Regions from separate parts of the Homo sapiens genome. Here region 2 is linked to region 1. The links are contacts of gene promoters, found by promoter capture Hi-C in blood cells and fetal thymus (Javierre and others, 2016). All regions are on one chromosome and are shown on one strand. Each heading gives the region's core, a stretch centred on a gene start or on the middle of the fragment in contact. The rest is flanking DNA. Distances are from core to core; before and after follow the strand shown. Region 1 holds the start of KRT85 (keratin 85). Region 2 holds the start of KRT76 (keratin 76).

Region 1 (2,700 bases), core at 97-2,596:
AGCGTTCTCCACACTCTGGCTGCATTAGGGGGCCTCCTCCTACCAGCCTGGCCACCTCCCTGTCTGCATTTCAGCCCTCTCTCATGAAGGGGCTGCCAGGCCTGGGTTGGCTGTCACACCTCCTCACCTACCACTGTCCTTGGAAAATAATGATAGTAGCAGCTAACATGTATTGAGTGCTGACTATTTGCCATCATGTTTCATGCATGGACTCATTAATTCCTCACAGGTGGATGAGGCAGTCCTGTTATTCAGCAGAGTAACCTGCCTGGGGTCTCACACTGCTGAGTGATGCAGCAAGGACTTGGGAGAGGCAGCATGGCTGTGGGCATTACCCCAGCCCCTTCACGGGCTGCCTGGCTAGGAGCCACAAGGTCTTTTGGTCTCCCCGTTATCTCCCACTCTTCCAGCACCTGCTGCCCAGTCTGGTTTTTCAGACACAGTTCTGATAGTCCTATGTCGTCTTGGCTCAAGAAACACACACACGCTCACACACATGTACACACTCACATGCATACACACACATATGCTCACACACATGTACACACACACATATACACACCACACACTAACATACGTACAGGCGCACACACCGCTACACACACACACATGTACACACACACACATGCACACACTTTGGATCACAGGCTCAATTTCTAGACCACACCTGGACCTCGTTAAATGCTGCGGGAGTTAAGTGATGGAAACTGACCCTTCCACCTGTATGGGTCTGCACGTCATTCCCTCTGCTGCCTCAAACCGGCAGCCATCCTGTCTCCTCAGCAGACTGGGACCTCCCCAAGGGAGGACAGGGCTGGAGGCTTCTCTGGGCCGTCTCAGGCCTCACCCACCTTGTCGATGAAGGCCGCGAACCTGCTGTTGAGGGACTTGATCTGCTCCTTCTCCTCCTGCTTCACGCACTGTGCGTTGGGGTCGATCTCCAGGTTGAGGGGCGTGAGGAGGCTCTCGTTGACCGACACGGTAGTGATGCATGGGGGGCTGGGTCCGCACACGCCCCCGGAGCGGTAGCCGAAGCTGCGTCCGCAGGAGCCGGCTCGGAAGCCACCTACAGCTATCCGGGGCCCGCAGGAGCCCAGGTTGCAGAGGCTGCGGCTGCCGAAGCCCGTCAGCCCTCGGTAGCAGGACACCCCTCGGTAGGGGGCGGCGCTGATGCAGCAGCGGTTGCCAGTTTTGGGGGCCACAGCTGAGCAGGAGCTGAAGTTCCTGGTGACCCCGCATCCTGAGCTGATCCTGTAGGAGCGGCACGACATCGTGTGAGGCTGAGCAGAGTCTGAGAGGCAGCGGAAGGTGGTGCGGGCGGCAGAGTGCGAGGCTCAGGATCCTTCTGCTCTCTCTGATCCTCCCTGGTCCTTTTATTGGTGGGGAGAGCTGGGGTTGGCTGCATAAAAGGAGTGGAAAGCCATTTTATGTTGTTTATGGGCTTGGGGAGTTTGCCAGCAACTCCCCACGGACTCATCTTAAAGGTGAGCTCAGCAGCGACTCTGGGGCTCCCTGAAGTCTTGAAGATGTTATTAAGGAGACTGCATTTGAACTTTTCATCTTCAAAGCTCGTTTACATACATTAAGTAATTAATTTTCTCACAGTCTTTCTGTGAGATGGCCTCAACCCACACTTGGAGACGGATTTGAACTCCACAACAGCCTGGGGGTGGCTGGGTTTGGGATACAGGCAGGAGCCATTGTCTCAAGGGAGAGGTTGGAGGGTCCTGGGTTAGGTGAGACTTGGGGGATCATTGCATTCATCTATCTGGTTCCACAGAGGACACATTCTCAAGTAAATCATTGCATTTCAGGGGCCAATAGGTCAGGCGAATCCCACCCCATCTAGGCAGCATTGCTTGGAAGGTGGTTCAGGACCAGAGCGGTCATTTTGACCATGCCCGTGCCAGGATAAAAGGCTGGGGCAGATGATCTCTTGGAACCTTCTGGATTCCAGCCCAGAAGGCGCTGGTCCAGAGCTTTCACTTCTCACCCAGCAAAAGTGCAAACCACAGAACTCTCAGTGGCCACAATAATGGCTACTTGCGGATTATGGGGAGACTCCCTCTAGCCACTTTCTTCCATTCGGTCAAAAGGATTGGAGAACTCAACCTTGGGATAACCTGGGGGCTATAAATTTGCTGTGGGCACCTTTGCTTTGCTCTTTAAGAAGAAACAGGTCATGTGAGTCTCCCTTCCCAGACCACCAGCTACAAGAGGTATTCCTTCTGTTGGCCAGCCCTTGAATTGTCATCCCTAGAGGAGTGTTTAGAGACTGCATTGCACAAAGCTGGAAGTGGGATAGTGGTTTATTCTTGTCTAAGGTGGCTATGACTTCTGGCTCCTGGGGGTTCTGGGAGCCCCATCCTTCTAGTTTCTGCTTCCCTGTGTGTCCTTGGGACACTTATTAGGATAACAAGTGCTATTCTTTTAATGTTTATGGAGTACAAACCTTGGGGATGTGGGTCTGCCCCCAGGAAGGTTAGCCAGACACCCAAGTGTTAGGAACTTAAGGAAGAAGAGCCGATGAGCTTCCTCAGAGGGTGACTCCTCCTCCAGGAAGCCTTCCATAACCAAACACTGCCATCATGCTGCTGTTCTCATAAGTCCTTCACGAAATGCCCTGTACTCTGTCCTGCATCTGCTCTAATCTCCACAGCCAGCTGACCTCACCCAGGACCTTCACCCAGGATCAGGCTG
Region 2 (2,700 bases), core at 177-2,676, 410 kb after region 1:
ACTGAGTGACAAAGCTAAGAATCAAACCCAGGACTGTCCTGGGTCTATAGGGATCCTTCAGAATACCACTGAAGGAGGTAAGCACAAATAAAGTTTGTCATTGTTTTTTAGATGTAAGCTTTTTTCAGCTCCATAAAGGCAGTGAATACAGTCAATGAGGTCTAACATTTCTTTAGAAGTTTCACATAGGAAGACCTCCTTTCAGTTATTCAGCTTGCAGCTGAACTAGAATTCACTTCAGATCCTGGGCTCAGTCCCACACAGACCCAGAACACCCTCCTCTGCCCCAGCATGGACAGCTCAGTTTAATTATTGGCTGAAGCACAGCATCATCTGGAAGGTAAGGCAGCTGCCAATGCACCTCATTTAGATGCAGCCTCAAGATCTGTGCTAACACAAGGTTTTGATTACCAGCTACTTTGGATTATCAAGCAATTGCTTTTCAGGAGAAATTAAAGTAACTGCAATAATTTCATGACTAAAATGGCTCATTCTTCAAAAAGCTAAGAGCATGTTTGGACCCCCACTTCATTTACCCTCATCTCATTCTTAGCAGGAAACCAGGACCAGGAATTCTTCCCCCCATTTCACAGCTGGAAAAAGAAGGCCCAAAAAGTGAAAGGGGCATGATCACTGTCCTGTAGGGACCAAGACAGCACCAGGACAAGAGCCAAGCGCCCCTGCCCTGTGTCTCACAAGTCCCCATGGCATCTTTCTACACCGACCCCTGGGCACCCCAAACCCTCCACAGCACCTCTTGGCCTTGCCCTCACCTTGTCGATGAAGGAGGCAAACTTGTTGTTGAGGGTCTTGATCTGTTCCCGCTCCTGGGCCTTTACTTGCCCAATCTGGGGGTCGATCTCCACATTGAGGGGCTGCAGGAGACTCTGGTTTACAATCACTTCCTGAATTCCCCCAGGAAAGCCCCCAGGGCCAAAGCCACCAGGACCACCAAAGCTGCCAGGCCCACCAAATACACCAGGACCACCAAAGCCACCAGCTCCACCAAAGCCACCAGCCCCTCCAAAACCACTACCTACTCCTCTGCCACCACCAAAGCCACCACCATAGCTGCCCCCAAAGCCACCTCCATAGCCACCTGCAAAGCCACAGCTGCTCCGCCCTCCCCCAAAGCCTCCAGCCCGGGAGCTGCCAGCTGCCACGCTGATGGAGATGCTCTTGTTGCTGCCCAGGTTGTAGAGGCTGCGACTGCCAAAGCTGCCTGCTCCGCTCCTGAAGCCACAGGCCCCTCCACCAGCTCCCCCAGAGCGGGCCACACAGCTCATCCTGCTGCTGCCGGAGACCACAGCAGAGCGGCCAGAGAAACCCTGGCTCCTGCCACTGAAGGATTTCTTGCAAACTTGTCTGTTCATAGTGAGAGAGCTTGGAGGCAAGCTAGTGATCACTTAGCAAGAGCTGAGAGGGATAGGGACAAGAGAGGAGACTGGCCTTTATATAACAGGGAGTTTGGCTTGGCAAAAGGAGAGGCGAGCAATTAGTTGAGAATCATCTTGGGTTTGGTTTGCCTCGTAGGCATTAAGTTACTTCTTGGTTCCCAACACACCTCAGAGATAATCCTCTGGGCCAGAGTGGCTTTGCTTTCTTAGCTTAATCACCTAAACTTGCCTCAGTTGACAAAATGCTGGAGCTCTCCTCCCTCCCTTTTTGTGCTGTCCTCAAGGGTTTCAGGGAACCCAAGCAGCACCTGATCCAGCAGGAGGAAGCAGCTTTAGACACCAGGTGATCCGGAGCCATGAGCTCCCTGACACAGGGGGGTGAGGACCAGGCAACCTCTTCTGAGTGGGCTGGGTCCCTCCCTGCAGCACCACAGTGTCCACAGGCTCCCACAGTGGCTGCGCCCGTCTCTGCCATCATTAGGCCTTTTCTTCCAGTGGCATGTCACCTGTTCCCAACTCTTCAGAGGGCCTGGAGTGGGAGCGGAAGTGAGAGGGGCCCAGACCCATAGAGTCTGCTCTGCCAGCACCTCAGCCAAAGGCATCCATCTCAGCAAACCTGGAGTTTGGGCTGAGAAATGCTACTTATGGGGAAGAAATTACAGTGGAGGTAAACACGTCTAGCTCCTGGAACAGGGAGCAAACAAGTATGAGGTTTGGGAAGAAGAGGGGGCATGCACTGTGGAGAGCCTCAGACCAAGCCCTCCCCCCACCATCCTAGACTGACAGCAGGCAATTTCTGGACCCAGAAGCAAGAGGAGACAGAATCTGGTAACCCTCCAGCTGGCTGGTAGAGTCGGCTCAAGCACCCCATTCATCTTAGGAGGACAGTGTATCTTGTGTCTAGGCCCCAACTCAGATCTTCTGGAGGGGATCCCCTCCCTGCTTTACCCCCTGGTCTGGGTCAGATGCCCCTCCTTGTCTTCCCACCATACCCTGTACTTTTCCCATCGTGAACCTGACATAAAGTATACTTACCTGCTTACTTGTCCATACCCCTCCGGTCCCTGAGCTTCTTGAGGGCAAGGCTTGAGTCCTGCCCATTCTAAATTATCCTAAATGTCCAGCTCCTAGCATAGGGTAAGCACAGCACAAACGTGTTAACTGACTGATGACTGATGTCTAAGAATGCAAATACCTAAAACCAGCTCCCACCCCAGCCCTATGAATGAAAATCTTCAGAGGAAAGGGTTGAGAGTTTGCATTTTTAACAAGCCCTCCAGGTCATTCTTATAATGCGGAAAGT

The links. The method cuts DNA at HindIII sites, captures the fragments that hold promoters and counts their contacts. A CHiCAGO score of 5 or more calls a contact.
Region 2: a contact is called between the fragment with the promoter of KRT76 here and the fragment with the promoter of KRT85 in region 1, in 2 of 17 cell types (megakaryocytes and erythroblasts). The highest score is 5.0, in megakaryocytes.

What each region holds. Positions count from the first base shown.
Region 1 is chr12:52,366,135-52,368,834 of GRCh38, forward strand. It overlaps KRT85 (keratin 85), which reads right to left and starts at 1,347. Exons shown (of 9, transcript NM_002283.4): 1 at 852-1,347. The coding sequence starts at 1,271. The HindIII fragment of the contact is 4,446 bases long and covers 1-2,700 here.
Region 2 is chr12:52,775,919-52,778,618 of GRCh38, forward strand. KRT76 (keratin 76) reads right to left here and starts at 1,427. Exons shown (of 9, transcript NM_015848.4): 1 at 774-1,427. The coding sequence starts at 1,373. The HindIII fragment of the contact is 4,392 bases long and covers 117-2,700 here.